Regions from separate parts of the Homo sapiens genome. Here region 2 is linked to region 1. Evidence: promoter capture Hi-C in human tissues and cell types (Jung and others, 2019). All regions are on one chromosome and are shown on one strand. The core of a region is centred on a gene start or on the middle of the fragment in contact, and the rest is flanking DNA. Distances in the headings are between cores, read along the strand shown. Region 1 holds the start of RD3 (RD3 regulator of GUCY2D). Region 2 has its middle 37 kb from the start of RD3.

Region 1 (4,826 bases), core at 1,300-3,799:
AAGAGGGATGCCCAGAGAGAAGAGGTCTAAGTAACTGCAAATCTGGTCTGTACCTATGAATATTCTGTCCATTTAATTCAACTTCTTTGGGATTAGGGCTACACAGACCTTCTGCAGGATTTGGAAAACCCAACGCATGACTGAGTGGTTAGAAATGGTTTGAAATAGCCTGGAAAGACTCCAGGGAGGAGAGAACGGAGCGCGCGCGTGCACACACACACACACACACACACACACACACGCAGAGCCGGGGCTTATCTCTAATCTCCATGCGGATTTTAATCCAGCCTTGCATGTAATCGCCTCATAACTCCACATTTCCAATTTATTAATCAAATGCCATCTATGAGGCAATGTTGCGGGCCCCACCGGTGTTTCTGCATTTGATGGTTGCTGAATATCTATGCTTCAGCAACTTCCATCCACGCCAAACAAGAGAAAAACAACCGCCACCTTTTCTCCCCAGAGCAAATTCACACTCAGCAAGGATAATCACAAATCCTCCACAGGTGAACAAATCAGAATAAATGAGGAGTCAACACACCCACCAAGGCCTGTGAGTTACGGTATCAAGGCAGCTGTCAGGGAGGGTCGTGGGTTAGGGAGTGCCTCCCTCTTCTAATCACAGGCACCATTTGAAAAATGCAGGAGAGGGGCCAGCTGCGTCTGCCAGGGAGACTGCTATAAGTCGTCTGTGTGCTTGTTCCCTGGCATCCCAGGGTCAGGAGTCCTGAAGCTCATCTGGCAGCTGCTGCGACAAAATCTTTCTGATGGCTCAAGACATTGGCCTCTATGATCTCATTTACATTCATTGTGTGTGCATTAGAAGGGGAGATATTAATACAAAAGCATGGCTATAGAAAAGGGATGAATTGTTTTTATTCAAACACAGAATGGTCAGTAGCAGACCCAAGGTTGTACTACTTGGAGATAAAAGTCTTTAACTCTGGGCCCTAATGCTGTCCCTGCTCCCCACCTGCCTGCCAGACTTCCACCTCCTCCTCATCTGATCCAGCAATCCAGCACACACAGGCTTGGCTGGGATGTGTGCAGAGAGGAGAGCCAGGCTCAGCCAGCTCCTAGCTTGGTGCCCCTGTAGAATGGTGCTTTAGAAATACGTGCTGCACAGATGAGCATGTGACTTAGTCCATGCCCTCCTCTCCTCATTGCCTCCAGCAACTTTCCTAAAGGGAAGGTAAAGTCTTGTCATCCCCCTGCTCCCTTCCCTACAGTGTGGAAATGCCTGGGAATTTCTGCCCTTGGACCTCCAAGCCACGCCCCTTGGGAAAGTGCCAGGATAGTGGTGGGGTGCTCAGAGGTGGGGACTCCCAGTTACCTGCTTTGGGTGACTCTGGCCTTAGCTGGCCCTGAGGTGGAGGCCGCCTGGGAACTGTGGGTCAGAGGAAGTCAGCTTCAGCTCCCTCAAATGTGGGGATCTTCCATCCCCAAGTGACCCACTCAATCTTTGGGGCTGTCGTGCTGTGAACTGGTCAAGAGAAGTATATGATCCAACTCCTGACTCAAGAATCTTGCCTGCTTGATGGATGAAGAGGGAAGGCGGATGGAACCAGCTGAGTGGAACCAGCCACAGAGCAAGCACGAAGTGACAAATCACCCAGGGACGAAATCATGCAGGCAGGCAGGTGGGCAACCTGAGTCCATTTCATCAGCCATTGTTTAATTTATTCTTGGTTGTACTTTCTGCTTTATTTCCAACACAATCAAAACCAGATGTGTGCAAAAGTCACGCTATCACCCAGCACAGGATTACCTAAGATCTATTATAATGCAGCTTCATGCCCATTACAGTATTCCCATGCCCCTCACAGGGCAGTGTGCATCTGTTTTAGTGCTACCTAATGTCTGTTAGGTGCAAGCTGGCCCACACATGGCTTCTAGGCAGAACAGTCTACAAGTGACAGCGTGACCAGAGAGCAGAGACAGGAAGGAGGCCCAGACATGAGTGTGGGATGCTGCAGAACAGCAACAGGATGCTTCTGCTATCCCCAAATGTTATCTCAAATACCTCAACGTCAATGCTTTCTGTTCCATGTTCCTCTTCTCCCTGGACAGCCCCTCCTTCTGAAAGTCAGAACTGTCTGCTCTTGAGCTTGCCTTGAGGGAAGGAAATAATTTAGATAAGCAGAGAGGAAGACAGGCAAGGGATGTGGTGGGGCAAAGGCGGAGATGTATCTTCACAGGTCCCTGTCCTCAGCACCCAGAATCACCCCTTCCCTGTAGGAGGGAGCTGATAGAAAGAGGGGATCTCCATCCAGGAGCCACCCACCAGGCAGCTGGAAACATTTGCCAACAGCAGGTACACCTAGGGCTCAGCAGAGGGTTGGGTGAGAATGGTCTTGCCCAGTTTGTGCCACACTGAGCACCGGCTGGAGGAGGAAGCGGACAGAATGCCATCTGGACACAAGTGCTCCCTCACTGCCTGGGCCTGGGTCGCCTCAGGCTTTTGTGTCAGATCAGCCACTCCCTCTACAGATAATGCTGCTCCAGGCAAAGAGGCTTAGGTGGGTCTCCAGGGCAACCGCAGCTCAGGAGCTGGCCCGCCTCCATGGTTCATCAGGGAAGCTGTGGCTCCAGCCTCGCGGGATACATACACGCATACACACACACACACACACACACACACACACACACACACACACACCTACACACCCCACAAACAATAGTCCAGGCTGGATCTCTCCTCCTGTCTCTTCTCTTGGTAAAACTTCTCAGAGAACCAAAGAGAGGCAAAATTTGAGGCCAGCCGGCAGCAGCAGAGAAGCTGAGGGAGACTTGAGGATGTAGACTGCCCTGCCCTGCTGTGGCTGCTCAACTTTCTTTTTTTTTCCTGAAAATATCCAGACACTCTCTTCTCCCAGACTGGGAAGCAGAACGCAGGCCCCCTGCTGTGACGCTGCACCTGAGCAGAGGCTGACCTCAGAGGTAAGATGGAGGTCTCCCCAGGAGACAGTGTCTTCCCCACCCGCACCCTGGCACAGCTGCACCTTTGGAAGTTAGGGCTGAGGCTTGAAGCTGGGTGGGGTGGCCTCAAGGGGTGTGGCAGGCTGGGGAGCCTAGAAAGCCGCCCACCTCCGGGACCCAGATGGCCACAGGAAGGCCCCTTTAGTCCTCATCAGTTCCACAGGAGTTGGAACCGATGAGGGTCCTGCAGCTTCCTCGGGGCTATAGCCTGCTCCTTGTTTTGTAAACCTGTGGGAAGCCATTGTTTTTGCCTGTTCTGGAACTGCAAGCCTCTCGGGGAGGACCCAGCTCCAGCAGGTTCCTTTCTGCCTTTATAGAGTGGACACAGGCAGGGGGAAGGAAAGCGAAACCCAAATCAGAGACTCTTGCATGGGTTTGCGAACTGTGATTCGAGCATCTACTAAGTCCAAGGCACAGAGTCAGGCTCTGGGGATGCAGCAGCACCCAGGGCACGAGGGTGATGGATGTGCCTCAGTCCCCTCGAACATGGAGCAGTCTGTGCATCCCTGATAACATGCCCAGGAGAGTGGGCCCAGGCAGATGGGTGCAGGGTGGGGCGCCAGGGAGATCGGGCCTAGAAGGAAAGTCCAGCTGCGACCAAGGGATGAGGGTCAGTCCCCTCCCACTGTGGTCAGTCAGACCTGTGTACACGCCCTCTCCTGGCTGCACCTCTGCCTCAGAATGGGAAGGACTGGCTGCCATTCACTCATTCATTCAGGAACCGCTTATCAAGTGCTACCATGTGCAGCAGATTCAACCCACATTCCTCTCGCCCTTGCAGAATTCATAGCTAGGTGGGGAAGAGATAAATACAACCCAAAGCGTGAGAAACGTGTTTGCTAGATGCCATGGTGATGGGCCCTTGTGTCAGGCCCTGGTGGCTGGGATCAGTGCTCCATGGGTGGGGGGAAGTGAGGGGCCGGCTGCAGGGAGGAGTTGTCTCTTGAGGGGTTCCCGACAAATGAGCAGATGTCTGTCAGGTGGGCAGAGGATCCACAGGTCAGGCCCGCTCATATCTGGCTTGGTGGATTATAGGTTGTTTTTCTGTGATGCCAAAGAGAAATAAGGTCAATTTGCAATCTGTAAAGTTGGACTTGGGCCTTATCAAACACAGAGCTGGGAGGCAGATTAGCCAGAGAAGCACCTACTCTCTGCCCCCACTGAGAAGTCTCTGCCCAGACTGAGCGTCTGGCGTCAGCAGAGCCAGCCTGCCCCTGCAGTGAAGCTGCCAGTGCTCTGGGACAGCCTGACTCAGGTGCTGCTCTATGCCTGGGTCCGGCGGGTCACACAGGGCAGCCCCTCACCCTGGCCTGCAGATGCCTAGCTCAGCTTCAGAGGTGGAGGACCCGGGCCGGGTTCCCTGGCCATGGCTCCCTTTGCACTGAGAAATTGGCCTTCCTGGGCAAGGTCTGCACGCCCTCACTGTTTGGCTGGGGCCGGCGCAGGGCCTCAGTTCTCACTAGAGGTGAGGGCACTCTCATCCCTCCTGCAGGGGGTCAGAGCCCTGCTTCCAGCTCCAAGGTCACACTCCCCATTGTTCCCACCATTGAGACATCCCTGGTCCCCCTCTGAGTGCCAAGTGGAACCAGAGACTCCTCTTGCCCTTGAGGCACAACGCGAGAGTTTTTCCAGCACAGCTAACGAGCCACAGCTGGTAGTGGCGCCTCCCAGGAGCCACAGAAAAGACATTATCCTCAGGGATGTTCAAAAATAGGCTGAAAGGAAGGCTCTGAGAGTGTGGGGGTGGAAGGGGTAATGAAGGAGAAAGGAAAGAGGAAAGAGAAGATCAGAGAATGGAAGATAACGGGCGTGGGTGAGTGACACCAAAAGGCAGAGACAGAACG
Region 2 (4,826 bases), core at 1,719-4,218, 38 kb after region 1:
TGAGATTTGGGGCTGAGACGTTGGGGTTTTCTAAATATACAATCATGTCATCGGCAAACAGGGACAATTTGACTTCCTCTTTTCCTAATTGAATACCCTTTATTTCTTTCTCCTGCCTGATTGCCCTGGCCAGAACTTCAAACACTATGTTGAATAGGAGTGGTGAGAGAGGGCATCCCTGTGTTGTGCCAGTTTTCAAAGGGAATGCTTCTAGTTTTTGCCCATTCAGTATGATATTGGCTGTGGGTTTGTCATAGATAGCTCTTATTATTTTGAGATACGTCCCATCAATACCTAATTTATTGAGAGTTTTTAGCATGAAGGGCTGTTGAATTTTGTCAAAGGCCTTTTCTGCATCTATTGAGATAATCATGTGGTTTTTGTCACTGGTTCTGTTTATATGCTGGATTACGTTTATTGATTTATGTATGTTCAACCAGCCTTGCATCCCAGGGATGAAGCCCACTTGATCATGGTGGATAAGCTTTTTGATGTGCTGCTGGATTCAGCTTGCCAGTATTTTATTGAGGATTTTTGCGTCAATGTTCATCAGGGATGTTGGTCCAAAATTCTCTTTTTTGTGTGTGTCTCTGTCAGGCTTTGGTATCAGGATGATGCTGGCCTCATAAAATGAGTTAGGGAGGATTCCCTCTTTTTCTATTGATTGGAGAAGTTTCAGAAGGAATAGTACCAGCTCCTCCTTGTACCTCTGTAAGAATTCAACTGTGACTCCATCTTGGTTGGTAGGCTATTAATTAGTGCCTCAATTTCAGAGCCTGTTATTGGTGTATTGAGGGATTCAACTTCTTCCTGGTTTAGTCTTGGGTGAGTGTATGTGTCCAGGAATTTATCCATTTCTTCTAGATTTTCTAGTTTATTTGCATAGAGGTGTTTATAGTATTCTCTGGTGGTAGTTTGTATTTCTGTGGGATTGGTGGTGATATCCCATTTATCATTTTTTATTGCATCTATTTGATTCTTCTCTCTTTTCTTCTTTATTAGTCTTGCTAGCGGTCTATCAGTTTTGTTGATCTTTTCAAAAAACCAGCTCCTGGATTCATTGATTTTTTGAAGGGTTTTTTGTGTCTCTATTTCCTTCAGTTCTGCTCTGATCTTAGTTATTTCTTGCCTTCTGCTAGCTTTTGAATGTGTTTGCTCTTGCTTCTCTCGTCCTTTTAATTGTGATGTTAGGGTATCAATTTTAGATCTTTCCTGCTTTCTCTTGTGGGCATTTAGTGCTATAAATTTCCCTCTACACACTGCTTTAAATGTGTCCCAGAGATTCTGATATGTTGTGTCTTTGGTCTCATTGGATTCAAAGAACATCTTTATTTCTGCCTTCATTTCGTTATGTACCCAGTAGTCATTCAGGAGCAGCTTGTTCAGTTTCCATGTAGTTGAGCAGTTTTGAGTGAGTTTCTTAATCCTGAGTTCTAGTTTGATTGCACTGTGGTCTGAGAGACAGTTTGTTATAATTTCTGTTCTTTTACATTTGCTGAGGAGCACTTTACTTCCAACTATGTGGTCAGTTTTGGAATAAGTGTGATGTGGTGCTGAGAAGAATGCATATTCTGTTGATTTGGGGTGGAGAGTTCTGTAGATGTCTATTAGGTCTGCTTGGTGCAGAGTTGAGTTCAATTCCTGGGTATCCTTGTTAACTTTCTGTCTCACTGATCTGTCTAATGTTGACTGTGGGGTGTTAAAGTCTACCATTATTATTGTGTGGGAGTCTAAGTCTCTTTGTATGTCTCTAAGGACCTGCTTCATGAATCTGGGGGCTCCTGTATTGGGTGCATGTATATTTAGGATAGTTAGCTCTTCTTGTTGAATTGAGCCCTTTACCATTATGTAATGGCCTCCTTTGTCTCTTTTGATCTTTGTTGGTTTAAAGTCTGTTTTATCAGAGACTAGGATTGCAACCCCTGCCTTTTTTTGTTTTCCATTTCCTTAGTAGATCTTCCTCCATCCCTTTATTTTGAGCCTGTATGTGTCTCTGCACGTGAGATGGGTCTCCTGAATACAGCACACTGATGGGTCTTGACTCTATCCAATTTGCCAGTCTGTGTCTTTTAATTGGAGCATTTAGCCCATTTACATTTAAGGTTAATATTGTTATGTGTGAATTTGATCCTATCAGTATGATGTTAGCTGGTTATTTTGCTTGTTAGTTGATGCAGTTTCTTCCTAGCATCAATGGTCTTTACAATTTGGCATGTTTTTGCAGTGGCTGGTACTGGTTGTTCCTTTCCATGTTTAGTGCTTCCTTCAGGAGCTCTTGTAGGGCAGGCCTGGTGGTGACAAAATCTCTCAGCATTTGTTTGTCTGTAAATGATTTTATTTCTCCTTCACTTATGAAGCTTAGTTTGGCTGGATACGAAATTCTGGGTTGAAAATTCTTTCCTTTAAGAATGTTGAATATTGGCCCCCACTCTCTTCTTGCTTGTAGAGTTTTTGCCAAGAGATCTGCTGTTAGTCTGATGGGCTTCCCTTTGTGGGTAACCCAACCTTTCCCTCTGGCTGCCCTTAACATTTTTTCCTTCATTTCAACTTTGGTGAATCTGACAATTATGTGTCTTGGAGTTGCTTTTCTCGAAGAGTATCTTTGTGGTGTTCTCTGTATTTCCTGAATTTGAATGTTGGCCTGCCTTGCTAGATTGGGGAAGTTCTCCTGGATAATATCCTGCAGAGTGTTTTCCAACTTGGTTCCATTCATCCCATCACTTTCAGGTACACCAATCAGATGTAGATTTGGTCTTTTCACATAGTCCCATATTTCTTGGAGGCTTTGTTCGTTTCTTTGTATCCTTTTTTCTCTAAACTTCTCTTCTTGCTTCGTTTCACTCATTTGATCTTCAATCACTGATACCCTTTCTTCCAGTTGATCAAATCGGCTACTGAAGCTTGTGCATTCGTCACGTAGTTCTCGTGCCATATTTTTCAGCTCCATCAGGTCATTTAAGGACTTCTCTACATTGGTTATTCTAGTTAGCCATTCGTCTAATCTTTTTTCAAGGTTTTTATGTTCTTTGCGATGGGTTCAAACTTCCTCCTTTAGCTCAGAGAAGTTTGATCTTCTGAAGCCTTCTTCTCTCAACTCGTCAAAGTCATTCTCCATCCAGCTTTGTTCCATTGCTGGCGAGGAGCTGCATTCCTTTGGAGGGAGAGAAGCACTCTGATTTTTAGAATTTTCAGCTTTTCTGCTCTGTTTTTTCCCCGTCTTTGTGGTTTTTATCTACCTTTGGTCTTTTGGTGACTTACAGATGGGGTTTTGGTGTGGATGTCCTTTCTGTTTGTTAGTTTTCCTTCTAACAGTCAGGACCCTCAGCTGCAGGTCTGTTGGAGTTTGCTGGAGGTCCACTCCAGACCCTGTTTGCCTGGGTATCAGCAGCGGAGGCTGCAGAACAGCGAATGTTGCTGAACAGCAAATGTTGCTGCCTGATCATTCCTCTGGAAGCTTTGTCTCTGAGGGGTACCCAGCTGTGTGAGGTGTCACTCTGCCCCTACTGGAGGGTGCCTCCCAGTTGGGCTACTCTGGGGTCAGGGACCCACTTGAGGGGGCAGTCTGTCTTTTCTCAGATCTCAAACTCCGTGCTGGGAGAGCCACTACTCACTTCAAAGCTGTCAGACAGGGACATTTAAGTCTGCAGAGGTTTCTGCTGCCTTTTGTTTGGCTATGCCCTGCCCTCAGAGGTGCAGTCTATAGAGGCAGGCAGGCCTCCTTGAGCTGTGGTGGGCCTCACCCAGTTCCAGCTTCCTGGCCGCTTTGTTTACCTACTCAAGCCTCAGCAATGGCGGGCGCCCCTCCCCCAGCCTCACTGTGGCCTTGCAGTTCAATCTCAGACTGCTGTGCCAGCAATGAGTGAGGCTCCATGGGCATAGGACCCTCTGAGCCAGGTGTGGGATATAATCTCCTGGTGTGCAGTTTGCTAAGACCATTGGAAAAGCACAATATTAGGGTGGGAGTGACCTGATTTTCCAGGTGCCATCCATCGCCACTTCCCTTGGCTAGGAAAGGGAATTCCCTGACCCCTTGTGCTTTGACCTGACCGAGCATGCTTTGGTTCATGCTCAGTGGGCTGCACCGACTGTCCTGCCCCCACTGTCTGACAAGCCCCAGTGAGATGAACCTGGTACCTCAGTTGGAAATGCAGAAATCACCCGTCTTCTGCGTCACTCACACTGGGAGCTGTAGACTGGAGCTGTTCCTATTCAGCCATCTTGGAACCCACCCGATTTTCTTACTTATTATTGGTCTGTTCAGGTTTTGGATTTCTTCCTGGTTCAATCTTGGTAGGTTGTATTTGTCTAGGAATTTGTCTCTGTCTTCTAGATTTTCCAATTTATTGCCATTTGGTTATTCATAGTAAGTCATTAATGATCTTTTGAATTTTTGCAATATCAGTTGTAATGTCTCCTTTTTTGTTTCTGATTTTATTTGTATCTTCTCTGCTTTCTTCTTAGGTAATCTGGTTAAAGGTTTGTCAATTTGGTTTAACTTTTCTTTTTTTTTTTTCCTGAGACTAAGTCTCGATCTCGGCTCACTGCAACTTCCGCTTCCTGGGTTCAAACGATTCTCCTGCCTCAGCCTCCTGAGTAGCTGGGATTACAGGCACCTGACACCATGCCCAGCTAGTTTTTTTTGTATTTTTAGTAGAGACAGGGTTTCACCATGTTGGCCAGGCTGGTCTCAAACTCCTGACCTCAGGTGATCCACCCGCCTCGGTCTCTCAAAGTACTGGGATTACAGGCATGAGCCACCGTGCCCAGCCTGGTTTAACTTTTCAAAACAACAATATTTTGTTTCATTGATCTTTTGGGTTTATTGC

Evidence for each region. Contacts are between HindIII fragments. The study calls those that stand out against the background at their distance.
Region 2: a contact is called between a fragment that was not itself captured here and the fragment with the promoter of RD3 in region 1, in 3 of the 25 tissues and cell types used here (bladder, spleen and thymus).

The regions. Positions count from the first base shown.
Region 1 is chr1:211,489,885-211,494,710 of GRCh38, reverse strand. It overlaps RD3 (RD3 regulator of GUCY2D), which reads left to right and starts at 2,549. Exons shown (of 3, transcript NM_001164688.2): 1 at 2,549-2,943. The HindIII fragment of the contact is 12,360 bases long and covers 1-4,826 here.
Region 2 is chr1:211,452,798-211,457,623 of GRCh38, reverse strand. No RefSeq gene overlaps it. Among named protein-coding and RNA genes, the nearest start is that of RD3, 37 kb to the left of the region's middle. The HindIII fragment of the contact is 3,093 bases long and covers 1,422-4,514 here.